Regions from separate parts of the Homo sapiens genome. Here region 2 is linked to region 1. The links are contacts of gene promoters, found by promoter capture Hi-C in human tissues and cell types (Jung and others, 2019). All regions are on one chromosome and are shown on one strand. The core of a region is centred on a gene start or on the middle of the fragment in contact, and the rest is flanking DNA. Distances in the headings are between cores, read along the strand shown. Region 1 holds the start of PLK4 (polo like kinase 4). Region 2 overlaps LARP1B (La ribonucleoprotein 1B).

Region 1 (7,949 bases), core at 1,751-4,250:
TATTTATGCTTGATTTAGAACTACTTTATAGTCACCAATGACATCCTAAAAAGGTTACTACATTTGAAAAGATACACAGTAAACTGCTACCAATAATTTAATTTAAAATGTGGTTTTAAGGACAGAAGGATAACAAATTTCTTACTTTACTACCGTAATAATTGAATTGTTTTAAGAATTAGCAGCTTGGGATGTAGGAAATCTCCTTTTCTAGCTTAAAGTAATAATTCAAACAGTTTTACTATATATTATAAAATAGCATATTCCTCAAAACTACACTTTAAAATGCAAAACTTTTATCCACCCAAACAAAACAAACAAAAAAAACCACACACCTACCTTCATTTTCTGAGAAGGGTTTCACTCTATTCTTTAGATACCTGTTCATTTCTCCATTATGGCACATTTCTAATACCAGATACACATAATTGCTATCTTCAAAATAGTTATAAAGCTGAAATGTGAAAGGGCATAATAAATTAAAATATACAAAAATTCAGTGTCCTTGGTCACTTCTACAAAATTTATATCTTACCTCCAAGATAGAAGGATGTTTCAATTGGCAATGTATTTTCACCTCATTTTGGACTCTCTGTACCATTCCTGCTTTGTACATGGCTTTCTTATCTATCTAAAAATAACAGGTTTAAATGTTGACAGACTTTCAAATATAAACTGCTTAAAAGTGAACTTTGAAAATAAAGTATACTTTAAAATAGACTGAAGTCCTTTTATACGTCTTTGTGGTCAACCTACTGTTATCTGTTTTCCCCATGCACCTAGCAGAGTGCTCGGCAGAGAGGGTGCTTGGTAAAAGTTTGACCAATTAATTCTAATATCCTATCTCAATTTAAATAATCTAATAGCACAACTAGCCTAACTATTAAGAAAAAAAAATCCCAATTCAGGCAAATTTTAGAGCAAAACCTCCAGTTCTTTTTCTAAGTGGTTTAGATAAATGATTTTTTTTTTTTAAAGGCAGGGTCTCACTGTCACCTAGGCTGGAGTGCAGTGGCATGATCACAGTTCACTGCAGCCTCAACCTCCCAGGCACAATCTATCCTCCCACCTCAGCCTCCTGAGTAGCTGGGACCACAGGCACATGCCACCACGCTTGGCTAATTTTTTTTTTTGAGATGGGAATTTAGCTCTTGTTGCCTGGGCTGGAGTGCAATGGCGCGATCTCAGCTCACCACAACCTCTGCCTCCCGGGTTCAAGCGATTCTCCTGCTCAGCCTTCAGAGTAGCTGGGATTACAGGTGTGCAGCACCACACCCGGCTAATTTGGTATTTTTAGTAGAGATGGGGTTTCTCCATGTTGGTCAGGCTGGTCTTGAACTACCGACCTCAGGTGATCCACCCGCCTCGGCCTCCCAAAGTGCTGGGATTACAGGCGTGAGCCACCGTGCCCAGCAGCAGCTAATTTTTGTATTTTTGGTAGAGAGGAGGTTTCACCATGTTGCACAGTTGTTTTCAAACTCCTGAGCTCAGGTGATCCACCTGCCTCAGCCTCCCAAAGCGTTGAGATTACAGGTGTGAGCCACCCACCCGGCTGACAAATAATTCTTAATTTGCTTATGTTTATGTTACTCCTATTAGGCTGACTTCTAACAATCAAGAATAATATTTTGTATGTTACAGGGAAATACAAAATTATACACAGTGAACTATAAACAAATTATTTGTTAGTTGATTTCTACTCATTACTCCAAGTATGGATAATTACACCACATACGAGGTCTACTGAACATTAATGAAGATAAAACTTACTTAAGCAAGGTCAAGGCTTTCCTAAAATATTTTTAAGTTCAACGGCTGGACTTGGCACTATTGTCTTCTGCCTATGTAAAGTGTTCCTTACACTATAATCAAAGGAAAGGCTAGTAGACAAGGAGTTTCTGACATCTCTGATACCTCTCTAGTTACTTGCAAAGTACAGGAGAGAAGTTGATTAGTTTATTCTTACCATTTTGATTGCAACTTCCAAACCAGTGTGAATGGACTCAGCTCTGTAGACACCAGCAAATGATCCTTTACCAAGCAGATTTCCAACTTTAAAATCCTTAAAAGTTAAAATTAAAGATTATGTGTGATGACTCACAGTAGAAAGGAAGATGGGAAGGGGCTGGAAAAAGAAGATAAAATGGATCGAGTGGGGAATTTGACAAAATTCAAGCGGGTATTACACCTCGATGCAGCAGGTGTCTAGGGTGGAAGGCATGTTGACTCCGTGCGGGGATACCTGCGCTTCCAGGCTGGACTGGAAGCTCAGGGTGATGGTGCACCCTAGTGATCTGGTTCCTCAACCTCAGTGCAGCCTAAGCGCCCTCCTCCCATCTCCAGCCAATCCCCGGGAGCGGAGGGCTCGGTCAGAATCCCGCCGCAGCTCCCGCCGGAGATAACCGCCATCCCCTTGGAGAAGTGGGAGGTAGCCCTGCCCTGCTCTAACGCGGTAGCTCGGGCGGGATTGCTGAAAGAAAGCCGCAGTGCCTCGGGACACTGCCGGGCGGGGAGGGACTCACCTGTCCCGCCTTCCCTACTCTTGTCTCTTGAGGGGCGGGCCGCTCCGCCCCTAAACAGCAGGGGTCTGGGCCGTTGGGACCCTCCCTAAGCACCTCGGTGCCCGCCCCGCAGCCGTTAGCTTCGTTCGCTCCCCTTCCCACAGCGGTCTCGTGTCCTCCCACAATTACTCCCACCCGCCCCGCTGCAGACTGCCGAGTCTTTTCACCTCGATCTTCTCCCCGATGCAGGTCGCCATATTTCCAGGCTCTGGCCTGGGTTCTCCGGATTAGCTTCCTTCACGCAGTCCCTTCGAGGCAGCGCTCCAAGCAGCCAGCCGGCCTTGGCGCCCATCAGGCTCGGCTCTCTAAACCGCCGCTCCAGGCGACGACGCTGAAACCACGGAAAGTTCTCCCTGACACCTTCCGAGGCCTGGGCGGTGCCTCTGGGCTCCCATTTTGAAAATCTCCCGCCGCTTGCCGTCCGAGCTAGGCTGGTGGTGACGTAACGAGATGGATCGCTCCGGATAGGCTGCGCCGGGGCGCGCATGCGCGGCAGACCTTCCTTTGCGGCCGGCCCAGGGTTCTAGACTTCGGGGCCAAGGGCCGGAAGCGCTGCGGAGAGTTTAGTTCGGGCGGGAGGCTGTCTCGGGCCCACTCTCGGAAGAACTTCTGCAAGACGGGTAAAAGAGCAGGCCTTAAAGATGGGACACTTATGGCTGATCGGTTACTTCACGGTCCGAAATACCACTTCTAATTCCGGAAAGGGTTTAAAACTATTTTAAAATGTCAAGCGTTTAAGACTTGACGGAACAGGGCAAAAAACATTACCTTCCTTTAAGGAACACCGTTTACACCACTACCGCTTATTCCGTAGTTTGTTATAACTGTAGTTAATGTGTACGGTACCTTAAGAAAACGAACTCCATTCTTTATTTTGGCAAACTCCTAAGTATTTAATATTATAATGTCATTTGTATAATAATTTACAGTTAGATCTCTCATACACATAATTTGTATGGATCAAAAGAGACCTCTGTAAGTTTGGGATGGTGTTTTGCAGGTGAGAAAAGTGTGATGCTTAAGGAAGGATATTTAACAAACAGAAGTAGCGCACAAACTTAGATCTTCTGTTATTAAGTGAAAGCTCTTTTCCTTGATGTTAGTGTGTATTTCTTTTTCTTTTTCTTTTTTCTTTTGAGATGGAGTCTCGCTCTGTCGCCCAGGCTGGAGTGCAGTGACTCGATCTCGGCTCACTGCAGCCTCCATCTCCTGGGTTCCAGCGATTCTCCTTCCTCAGTCTCCCGGGTAGCTGGGATTTACAGGTACGCGCCACCACGACTGGCTAATTTTTGTATTTTTAGTAGAGACGGGGTTTCACCATGTTGGCCAGGCTGGTCTCGAACTCCTGACCTCAGGTGATCCGCCTGCGTCGGCTTCCCAAAGTGCTAGGAATACAGGCGTGAGCCTCCATGCCCGGCCCATTTTTTTTTTTAAACTTTTTAGTTTCAAATAATTTTAAGCTTACAGAAAAGTTGTAAAAATAATAGAGAACTCCTGTTGTCCTTTACTCAGATTAACCAATTCTTAACATTTTGCCACACTTGTTTTTACTATTCTTCATGTGTAATATACATGTATAAATATATAAATAAGCCTATTATTTGTATTTTATGAATCATTCTAAAATAGGTTACATACACTATGCTCTTATACCCCTTATTTCTAAAGTGTGAATTTCTTAAGAACCAGGGTATCCTCTTGTATGTTTATCAAATTAAGGATATTTAGCATTGATACAATATTTATATTTAATCTAATCTACAGTTCATATTCCGATTTGTCAATTGTTCCAGTAATGTCTTTATTTAACATTTTTTCCTTCCAGTATAGATCTAGTACAGGATCACATACCGTATTTAGTTACCATATCTTTTTAATTTCCTTTAATATGGAAGAGTTCCTCAGCATTTGTATTTTTGTGACATTGAGATTTTTGAAGAGTGCAGGCCAATTATTTATCATTCGTTCATTTGTTCATTCCAGTATTACTGAGGTATAGTTGACAAAAATTGTATTTATTCAAGTTGTACAGCATGATGATTTCATATACATTGTGAAATGATTACAACAATCAAATTAACACATTGTCACCACTCTTAGGAGTGTGTGTGTGTGTGTGTGTGTGTGTTAAGGGCCAGTTATTTTACAGAATCTTCCCTACTTTGGGTTTGTCTCGTGTTTCCTCATGATTAGATTCAGGTTATGTATTCCTGATTGTAATATTACATACATGAGGTTATATTCTTTCCAAGAGACCACATTTGGAGGCACGTGATATTGTTTGTCTCTCATTAGTGATGTTAATTTGATCCCAGTTTCTCCACTGTATAAATTGCTGGTTTTCTACTTGCAACTAATAAGCAATCTATGGGGGAGACACTTGAATTTCCTGCAAATATTCTGCTCCTCAGCAAACCCCTCTCTCACAATTTAGCAGTATTATTGATTTTTCCTAAACTAGTCTTTACTATGATAGTTACAAAATGATAATTGTTCTCTTTCCATATGTATTAGAAACAATTTTGCCAAAAAGATGAGCCCCGCCTGGTGTGGTGGCTCAAGTCTGTGATCCCAGCACTTTGGGAAGTTGAGGCAAGCAGATCGCTTGAGCCCAGGAGTTCCAGATCAGCCTGGGCAAAATAGTGGAAACACAGTCTCTACAAAAAATACAAAAATTAGCCAGGGGAGGTGACTTGCACCTGTGGTCCCAGCCACTCAGGAAGCTGAGGTGGAAAGATCACTTGAGCCTGGGTGGCAAAGGCTGCAGTGTGCCAGGTTCATGCCACTGCACCACAGCCTGGGCGACAGAGCGATACCCTGTCTCCAAACAAACAAACAAACAAAAAACAACCAGAAGAGCCCTACATTTTGCCCTGTTTAATGATATACAGATGGTCCCCAACTTATTATTATGATGGTACAATTTATGATATTTTGTCTTTACAATGTATTTATAAGGCTATTAAATGCATTTTTTGACTTAGGATATTTTTGACTCATGATGAATTTATTGGGATGTAGCCCCCTCATAATTCAAGGAACATCTGTGTTTTCAGTATGAATTTAGGGATTCCCAGATTATTGAATCAGTTATAATCCATTTCCTCAAAGGATTATAATCCATTACCATCTTATTTTGGTGTTCAAAGTGTCTGAGATTTGTTTAGTGAGAGCTCCTTTCAACCTAGCTGTTTTGATAGGACATATATATATAAAAGCAGTTCTTTACTTTCTGGTACAACAAGATGTTCTAATTTTATTTTGGGCTTTCTCTCACCCAGCACTGAAAGGAGCCATTTCTGCAAAGTGTCCTGACACCTTACAGTAGAAAATGGTGCTTAAAAAACAATATCTGGGAGCTTAGCAAGCTTATTGCGACTTAGGTGTCATTGCATCTATGCCTTTTCAGCAGATGAAACTAAAGAAAAAAATATTAGTAATCATGAGTTCAAGCTGATATCACCAATTCTAATCTAATTTCACATAGTTGTTCCTACTACCTTAAATTTCTATTTAATCACTGTTACCATATATACATAATTTTAAAAATCAAATTGTTTTATAACAAATATTAATAACAAGCATACAAACTCTGCATTTCTGCTTCCCAGATGCAACCCTCTTCAATTCATTTAACTGTTCATTTTTATATATTCTACCGTATTTCTAAATAACATGCTTATTTTCTTTTTTGATTTTTTTCAGTTATAGATTTAGCTCTATTAACTTTCTATTGTGGAAGATGAGGAACTATTTCTTTAGTTGCTTTTACTTTCACCCCTTTTCTTTTTCTTTTTTTGACACAGCGACTTGCTCTGTCACCCAGGCTGGAGTGCAATGGCACGATCTCAGCTCACTGCAACCTCTGTCTCCCAGGTTCAAGTGATTCTCCTGCCTCAGCCTCCTGAGTAGCTGGGATTACAGGCACACGCCACCACACCTAGCTAATTTTTGTATTTTTAGTAGAGACGGGATTTCACCATGTTGGCCAGGCTGGTCTCGAACTCCTGACCTCAGGTGATCCATCTGCCTCAGCCTCCCAAAGTGCTGGGATTACAGGTGCGAGGCACCATGCCCGGCCACTTTCATCCCTTTGTGTCCTCAGTTCTTGTGACCTCATTCTCTAAATGTAATTACCTCATAAGTTTTTGTTTTTTCTTTGAGACTGAGTTTCGCCCTTTGCCCAGGCTGGGGTGCAATGGTGCGATCTCAGCTCACTGCAACCTCTGCCTTCCAGGTTCAAGCGATTCTCCTGCCTCAGCCTCCTGAGTAGCTGGGATTACAGGCATGTACCACCAAGCCTGGCTAATTTTTGTGTATTTTTAATAGAGACGGGGTTTCTCCATGTTGGTCAGGCTGGTCTCGAACTCCTGACCTCAGGTGATCTGCCTGCCTCCGCCTCCCAAAGTGCTGGGATTACAGATATGAGCCACCGCGTCCGGCCTAACTTTTTTTTTTTTTGAGACAGAGTCCCCCTCTGTCGCCTAGGCTGGAGTGCAGTGGCACAATCTTGGCTTACTGCAACCTCTGCCTCCTGGGTTCAAGCAATTCTTGTGCCCCAGCCTCCCAAGTAGCTGGTATTATAGATATGTGCCACCATGCTCTGCTAATTTTTGTATTTTTCATAGAGACAGGGTTTTGCCATGTTGGCCAGGCTGGTCTTAAACTCCAGACTTCAAGTGATCCACCTGCCTCAGCCTCCCAAAGTGCTGGGATTGCAGGCATGAGTCACCATGCCTGGCTACCTCGTAACTTTTGTTTCTCAATATTCAGAGTTTACAATGTTATTACAATTAAGTAAATATTACAGCTGAGATACACAAAATCCTTTCCCCTCTTTGTATAACTTTTAGTTACTTCTACGGTTTAAGAAAATGCAGAACAAAGCTAGTGCTCTCAACAGCACTTTAAGGAATAGTGATGTGTAATTCTGAGGAAGCTGTGTTAAGACTATCTCATCTCATATCTTTACTTGAAATAATGTTTTCCTCTGAGATAGTCTGAGTCAAGAGATTATTCTTTACTAAGATAGTCTATTGGCTATATATAGGGGCTATGTATAGATGAAGGGATTGCAGGGAACTTTCATTTTCTACCTCCCATAGCCTTAATTTTTAAAATATTTATATTGAGCATGGAATTTTTTATTATAAAAAATTTTCAGGCAAAATGATAGGTAGAGAGAACAGTGCAATAATGAATTTCAAAGTTCAATAATTTTTAGAAATGTGTCATAGGGTGAGTTTAACTTTTTTATGACTCTTTGAGTGAGAAGTTCCAGGTGGTGCCATGTCTGTGCAGTCTTAACCAACTGAGGAATCAGACCAGAATTTGGGCTGACCACAGCAGCTAAAAGTGAGTAGAAAAGCATACAGGGTGAGAGAGGGA
Region 2 (7,949 bases), core at 4,074-6,573, 270 kb before region 1:
GGCATCCAAGCAAAATAAAAAATATAGGTTTGGGGTGGGTTTTCTTTCATTTTTTAAAATGAGAGACAGAATATAAAAAAGATGCCTATGAAACATAAGACAAATAACTGGAGAATTTAGTAGGCTACCGGTAATATAGTTCTAGAGTCCCACAAAGACACAAGGGAGTCATTAGCATACAGTTAATAAATAAAAACCCAAAACTTAAGAATAGAGTCTATCATTTCTAGACAAGCTATCAAAATAATAAGAGAAGTAGGCCAGGGATAAACCAGGGAAGACCACATTTTAAAAGGCAAACTGGCCAGGCACTGTGGCTCATGCCTGTAATTCCAGCACTTTGGGAGGCCAAGGCGGATGGATCACGAGGTCAGGAATTCGAGGCCAGCCTGGCCAAAATGGTGAAACCCCATCTCTACTAAAAGTACAAAAATTAGCCAGGCGTGGTGGTGCACGCCTGTAGTCCGTGGCTGAGGCAGAAGAATCGCTTGAATCCGGGAGGCGGAAGTTGCAGTGAGCCAAGATCGCGCCACTGCACTCCAGCCTGGGCGACAGACTGAGAGTCTGTCTCATAAATAAATAAATAAATAAATAAATAAATAAATAAATAAATGGCAAACCAAGGCCAGGCGTGGTGGTTCATGCCTGTAATCCCAACACTTTGGGAGGTCGAGGCAGGCGGATCAGCTGAGGTCAGGAGTTCAAGACCAGCCTGGCCAACATAGTGACACCCCGTCTCTACTAAAAATACAAAAATGAGCTGGGTGTGCTGGCGGGCACCTGTAATCCCAGCTACTGGGGAGGCTGAGACAGGAGAATCGCTTGAACCCAGGAGGTGGAGGTTGCAGTGAGCCAAGGTTACACCATTGCACTCCAGCCTGGGTGACAAGAGCAAAACTCCATCTCAAAAAAAAAAAAAAAAAAAAAAAAAAGGCAAACCAAAATTGTAAACTTAAAACTGTAAAATAATAAATCCTGTTGTGTGTTTTATCACAATTAAAAAACAAAAGTAAAAAAGGAAGAGGGCAACAAGACCACTTTGTTGTGCCATAAAATATAAATGTGCTGAACAGATGACAACATGCTGGTTATAAGCAGGAACCATCTTGAGAGAGCTCTAACCTGACTAGGTTTGAGATATTCTGAACATCAAAATGAATGAGGACAAGAATGGATAGAAATCCATGTTGGAGTCCATACTATCACTAAAAAGGGAGAAAATTAAAATATAAAAATAAAAAAATGAAGTGGAGAGGAAAGTTCTTCTTTATAGAAGAATACTAACAGACATATAGGGAATAACAAATTTAAAAATCACCATCTAAATAAAAAAATAAAAATAAAAAATAAAAAACATTAACCTAAAAAATAAAAAAATAAAAAATAAATAAAAATCACCATGTTGGCCGGGCGCAGTGGCTCACACCTGTAATCTCAGCACTTTGGGAGGCCGAGGCAGGTGGATCACGAGGTCAGGAGTTCGAGACCATCCTGGCCAACATGGTGAAACCTCGTCTCTACTGAAAATACAAAAATTAGCTGGGCGTGGTGGTATGCGCCTGTAGTCCAAGCTACTCGGGAGGCTAAGGCAGGAGAATCGCTTGAACCCGGGAGGTGGAGGTTTCAGTGAGCCGAGATTGCGCCACTGCACTCCAGCCTGGGGACAGAGCGAGAGTCCACCTCAAAAAAAAAAAAAAATCACCATCTTATAATAAGCATAATAGCTGATTCAAGCAAAAATCACCAATGGAAGCTAAAATACTGAATAAAGACTGTTGGGGAACACAGTTTTAAAATATCACTCCAAGGATCATTTATTAATTACAAAAGAGAAAAGGTACATTTACAGTGAGCAAATCTGGTAGATATCATCATAACCAAATGACCAAATCACCAATTCTAACCACATCAAATTTTGTAACTGACATCACATGTCTCTGGAGAGCATATACTAAACAAGGCACATTGCCTATGTAATGTTCTTGTCAAAAATACTTAACCTGGCTGGGCGCGGTGGCTCACACCTGTAATCCCAGCACTTTGGGAGGCCAAGGTGGGCAGATCACTTGAGGTCTGGAGTTCGAGACCAACCTGGCCAACATGGTGAAACCTTGTCTCTACTGAAAATACAGAAAATTAGCCAGACATGGTAGTGCATGCCTGTAATCCCAGCTACTCAGGAGGCTGAGGCAGGAGAATCACTTGAACTCGGGAGGCAGAGCCTGCAGTGAGCCGAGATCACGCCATTGCACTCCAGCCTGGGTGACAGAGCGAGACTCCACCTTAAAAAAAAAAAATCTTAACCTGAAGCTAATCATATAAAGATATCGGGCAAATCCAAACTGAAGGACAAAACAACTGGCCTGAACTCTTGAAAAACATCAATGTCATGAATAGCCAAAAAGAAAAAAAAAGGCAGCACAACTATTCTAAATGAAAGAACATTAAAATTATATGACTCTCAAGGCAATGTGTGATTCCTGTCTGGAATTGACTTAGAAAAAAATAAAAGAAATTATAAAGGACAACTGAGACAACTGGAGAAATGTAAATATAAACTGCATATTCAATAATAGCATTCTATCAATGTTAAACTTCTTGTGTTTTTGATAATTGTGGTTATGTAGGAGAGTGTACTTGTTTTTAGGAGATACTTGCTGATGTATTTTAGGATAAGCTGACATAATGTCTACAACTAACTTTCAAATGATTCAGGAAAAAATGTATATATATGCACCTATATATTTATACATAGAAAAAAAGGAAATATGGTAAGATGTTTGCCAAATCTAGGTGAACAATATACTGGCATTCCTCATATTATGTATGTAACTTTTCTGAAGGTTTGAAGTATTTCAAAATGAAGACTTGGAGGGAATAAAATATAGATGCATATTACTGATACAGAAAAATATTCATAACATTAAGTGAGAAAATGGCATTGTCTTTCAAAGTCTACATTTCTCTGCAACTCATATTGGTCTGACTAGAAAGAAGAAGCTTAAGCAACAAGGATTTCCCTTCAGCCAAATTGCTTGAAAGAACCCTTGGTGCTTCAACTTTCTCACTTCCCATTCATGTCAATGTGAATTACAGTCTGATGGTAGGTCCAAGGTGGTCAGCAGTAAGGGATTTTTATTTTTTTATTTTACATTTCTTCATTTATTTTTTTTTCCCAAGACAGAGTCTTGCTGTCTTGCCCAGGCTGGAGTGCAGTGGCGCAATCTTGGCTCACTGCAACTTCTGCTTCTCGGGTTCAAGCAATTTTCTCTGCCTTAAAATAAGAAGTCAGTGGGGGAAAAAAGATGAAGCTGGTTGGGTGCAGTGGCTCACATCTATAATTCCAGCTCTTCAGGAGGCTGATGTGGAAGGATTACTTGAGGCCAGGAATTCAAGACCAGCATGAGCAACACAGTGAGACACTGTCTCCACAAAAAAGTAAAAAATTAGTCAGGTGTGGTAACACATGCCTGTAGTACCAACTACTAGGGAGGCTGAGACAGAAGACTCCCTTGAGCCCAGGAGTTTGAGGCTGCAGTACGCTATGATCTCACCACTGCATTCCAGCCTAGGCACAACAGGGTGAGACCCTGTCTGAAAAAAAAAAAAAAAAGAAAAAAATTAAAGCTATAGTTGAGATAGAATGTGTCCCTTTATGGGTCATAATCTCAGACACCATTTATTTTCTTGGCTTCTTCAGTGAAACTATATATAATAACCACACCTTTTTTGTTGTTGTTGTTTTGTTTTGTTTTGAGATGGAGTCTTGGTCTGTCGCCCAGGCTGGAGTGCAGTGGCACGATCTCGGCTCACTGCAACCTCCGCCTCCCGGGTTCAAGTGATTCTCCTGCCTCAGCCTCCTGAACAGCTGGGAGTACAGGTGTGCACCACCATGCCTGGCTAATTTTTGTATTTTTAGTAGAGACAGGGTTTCACCATGTAGGCCAGGATGGTCTCGAACTCCTGACTTTGTAATCCGCCTGCCTCTGCCTCCCAAAATGCTGGGATTACAGGCGTGAGCCACTGCGCCCAGCCCACACCTATTTTTTTCCTCCAAATTACCACTAGTGGACTTCCTGTCTCAATTGTTCCCTCTCCTTTTCTTTAATACCTTAAAAAGTTCAATCACTTTTCCTGCTTTAAGTCTCCCTTCTTTACTAAATACTCCAAAATCTACATTTCTGGCCTTCTTATCATCTCTAGGATTTAGAGAGAGGGCAAAAGACATTTTACATAAATAGACACCATGAATCAACTCAACATTTCCAAATCTGATCTTAAGATCATTCTCTCCTAGGTTTTCCTTGCTAATGTCCCTACTTCTTTCACAAGGTATTATGAACAGATTCTTTAAAATCGCTTCCCAATTTTGGCACTTTTTCATTCTCACGTAGGTTATTAATGAATGTTGAGAAAATAAACGATATTCCTTTTGTTCAGCTCTTCATTTCACCCTTGGATTACTATAAGTGGGTTTTTTAACTCAACTTCTGTCCTCCCCTATTCTGATCTAGGTTAATGCCTCACATATATAAACCTATTAAACCACTATTTTGATCATTCCACTTTCTTTATAAAAACTGCAATTGCTCTTTATTCTAAATTCCTATAAAGCTTTCAAGACACTTTGCAATCTGGTCCCACCTCACCTACCCAATCTTCAGAGTACTGTAGTGCTAACATTTAACTTACAGAAATTCAATTATACTTGTTTAGCAATAATAATACTTTTTAAATGGGCCAGCAATGCCACTGCTATTCTACTCAATGAATGTATGCATTGATGTAATCAAATCCTAATGTTAATGCACAGAAAGAAAAACCTAACGAAAGGATGAATACATTTCGATAATGTCCTGACCACTGAAAAGTGCCCAAACAAGTATAGTTTTACCATATCCTTTCATGTTCAAAAATGTTGAAAAGCATAGGGAAATAACAACTAAAAGTAGAAAGAATTATTTTAAGTATTAGCCTCTGGCCAGGTGCAGTGGCTCATGCCTGTAACTCCACCACTTTGGGAGGCCAAGGCAGGTGGATTACTTGAGGTCAGGACTTCGAGACCAGCCAGGCCAACATGGTGAAACCCCATCTCTACTAAAAATTCAAAACTTAGCCAGGCATTGTGGTGAGCACCTATAATCCCAGCTACTCAGGAGGCTGCAGCAGAATTGCTTGAACCCCGAGGGTGGAGGTTGCAATGAGCCAAGACCCCGCCACTGTGCTCCAGCCTGGGCAACAGAATGAGACTCCATCTCAAAAATAAATAAATAAAATAAAGTAAAATAATAAAATTTAAAAAAAAATCAGCTTCTAAAGAGAAAGATGACTATGGACAGGAAGACCCATCAAATTAGAATCTTTATAAATATGCTCAAGTACTTCAAAATTCAAGCACTTCAATACTTTATTTTATAAATATGATCCTGCTACATTACTACATATATATTTAGAAGCTTTTTTTTTTTTGAGACAGAGTTTCACTCTTGTTGCCCAGGCTGGACTGGAGTGCAATGGTGCAATCTCGGCTCACTTCAACCTCCACCTCCCAGGTTCAAGAGATTCTCCGGCCTCAACCTCCCAAGTAGCTGGGGTTATAGGCGCCCACCACCACGCCCAGCTAGTTTTTTATATTTTTAGTAGAGAGGGACTTCACCATGTTGGCCAGGCTGGTCTCAAACTCCTGCCCTTAGGTGATCTACCTGCCTCAGCCTCCCAAAGTGCTAGGATTACAGGCATGTGCCACCGCGCCCAGCTTTAGATGCATATTAAGGTGTAAGGCTATGCATAAAGTGATACGTATTTTACTGGTGATTTAAGAGAATTAGGAATGTTTTGATCATTCTCAATTTTCAACTTAAAAGGGCTCTAAAACCTATTCCCAAATAATATTGAACTCTGTTAGATAATTCACATACTTAGCTCTCATTAGATAATCAATGTCAAGAAACTTTTTATTACTCAGGAGCCAATTTCAAAAAAAAGTTGTAAACTCTGTATTTTTTTCATAAATTATATCAACAGGCTATTAATAAACACATTCGTGCTTACATATTACTGTATTCTATCAGTGAAGGAGTGACTAGAAACTTTATAAATTATATTGTAATTACTGGCCATAACTCTTTTTTCTTTTTTTTACTACTGGCCATAATTCTATTATTTGATGAAGACACTTCAGAAACTCATTTGTTTTCCATTTATTGACTTTATAAGTTTTTAATTTTGAATTCTGGGTCACAAAAAGTACTCTTCAATCCACTTTCTTTGAAACACAAGATTTTCTTCAGCCACTGTTCTAGCAATAACCACATCCAGATTTCATTATTTAAGAGGCAATCTACCCACTTAGAGCACCCCATACTACTTTCTGTCCTCAACTTCTCTTTTTTACTGTTCCCCTTCATAAATCAAACCCACCAGCTACCTTCTCTAGCTAGACTACTTATTCTCTGTTTTGATTTTGTACATATATCCAAATATTGCCTAATAATCAAGGCAAAACTCTTGCATGCATCAAGGGGAGAACTTTTTGAAAGAATGTATAAAAGAGCAAATTTTTCAATCGCTGTCTTAGCAGTGAGAAAAAGGGAAAGACTCTGTCACAGAAATCTGAGCAAAGAAACCAGGCGATCTTAGAAAAAGGGCAAGAAAGAAGCCAGCCAGTTGTTTGGGGCTAACTAGTTCACACCTCAAAGCAAATATACAAAAGAGGTCTCTCGTCCCAGCTAACAAAGCTGAGAATCATAAAGAATCTGGGGACTGGAAACTCCATCACTCCTCAACACTGTTCACAAATTGCCTATCACTATGCTTAGCACCTAACAGCTACTCAAATATCTGTTAAATGAATAAATGGATAGATGAATGAATGAGTGAACCAATGGGATAGACACTGTCATCAAGGAGAATGTGTTGCAATGGAAGTTATCTTCTGTGTCCTTTATTTTTGGTCAGGAATACTAAGCATAACAGTGGGTCCTAGATCAGATGTTTTATAATATAGAATATTCGTTATTTAGGACCTAGTTTTAAGTTCTAGGCTTCTCTAGGATGCTTCCCTTGATTATGCCAACCTAAAACTCTCAAAATTCTTTCATCCAGCTATTTTTAAATAACTGTTCTGCTTTGAAATATCTTGTATAAAACCTATGTGTATGGTATGAAAATTAATACAATGAACACCACATGCTACTACCATCTATGTTAATAGGACACTGCCAATATCCTGGAAGTCCCTTTTTGCCCCTGCCCAATCCCATTCCCCTCCTTCTCTCCAGAAAAACCACCATATTGACCTTAGCAAGACCGATTTCCTAACTGTTCTTTCATTTATTACCTTTGAAAGTTTCCCTATGCAATATATTTCATTTCCCCTGTTTTGGAACTGTATATTAATAAAATCATATTTTCTGCATATATTATATGGCTAACATCCACCAAACTTTTAAAACTTCTTTACTTTGGAATTTTTCTAACATATACAAAAATAGAATAGTATAACAAAGTCCTATATACACATCACATGGTTTCAACAACTATCACCATTTTACCATTCTCTTATTTGATCTATATTGGCATTGTTTTTAAAATCATCTTCATTTCTATACCAATTATTTCACTGTTAAATACCATACCACTGTATACAAAACATATATAATACCATTTTAGACATAATGAAGCTATTAGATTTAACAATATGGATGTGTCTCATAGTCCACACATTCAAAAGTTTCTCTACAAAAGATACACACACGTACACATATAGACATAACTAGAAATGGAACTGATGTGTATTAGAAAAATGCATGTATACATATGTACATGTGGAAATGGAACTGATGCTTCTTAGGATACATAAACAATCAACTTTAATAAGTAATACTAAAGTTGGTTGTAACAATTTAATTTAACACCAATAGTGATGTGTGAATTCATGTTGCACCACT

What was found. Contacts are between HindIII fragments. The study calls those that stand out against the background at their distance.
Region 2: a fragment that was not itself captured here is called in contact with the fragment with the promoter of PLK4 in region 1 in 1 of the 25 tissues and cell types used here (heart left ventricle).

Annotation. Positions count from the first base shown.
Region 1 is chr4:127,875,944-127,883,892 of GRCh38, reverse strand. PLK4 (polo like kinase 4) reads right to left here and starts at 3,000. Exons shown (of 16, transcript NM_014264.5): 1 at 2,729-3,000; 2 at 1,967-2,062; 3 at 536-631; 4 at 340-454. The coding sequence starts at 2,758. RefSeq lists an enhancer at 2,677-2,916. The HindIII fragment of the contact is 10,406 bases long and covers 1-4,975 here.
Region 2 is chr4:128,145,957-128,153,905 of GRCh38, reverse strand. The region is part of intron 11 of LARP1B (La ribonucleoprotein 1B); the gene reads right to left. Among named protein-coding and RNA genes, the nearest start is that of LARP1B, 89 kb to the right of the region's middle. The HindIII fragment of the contact is 3,032 bases long and covers 3,808-6,839 here.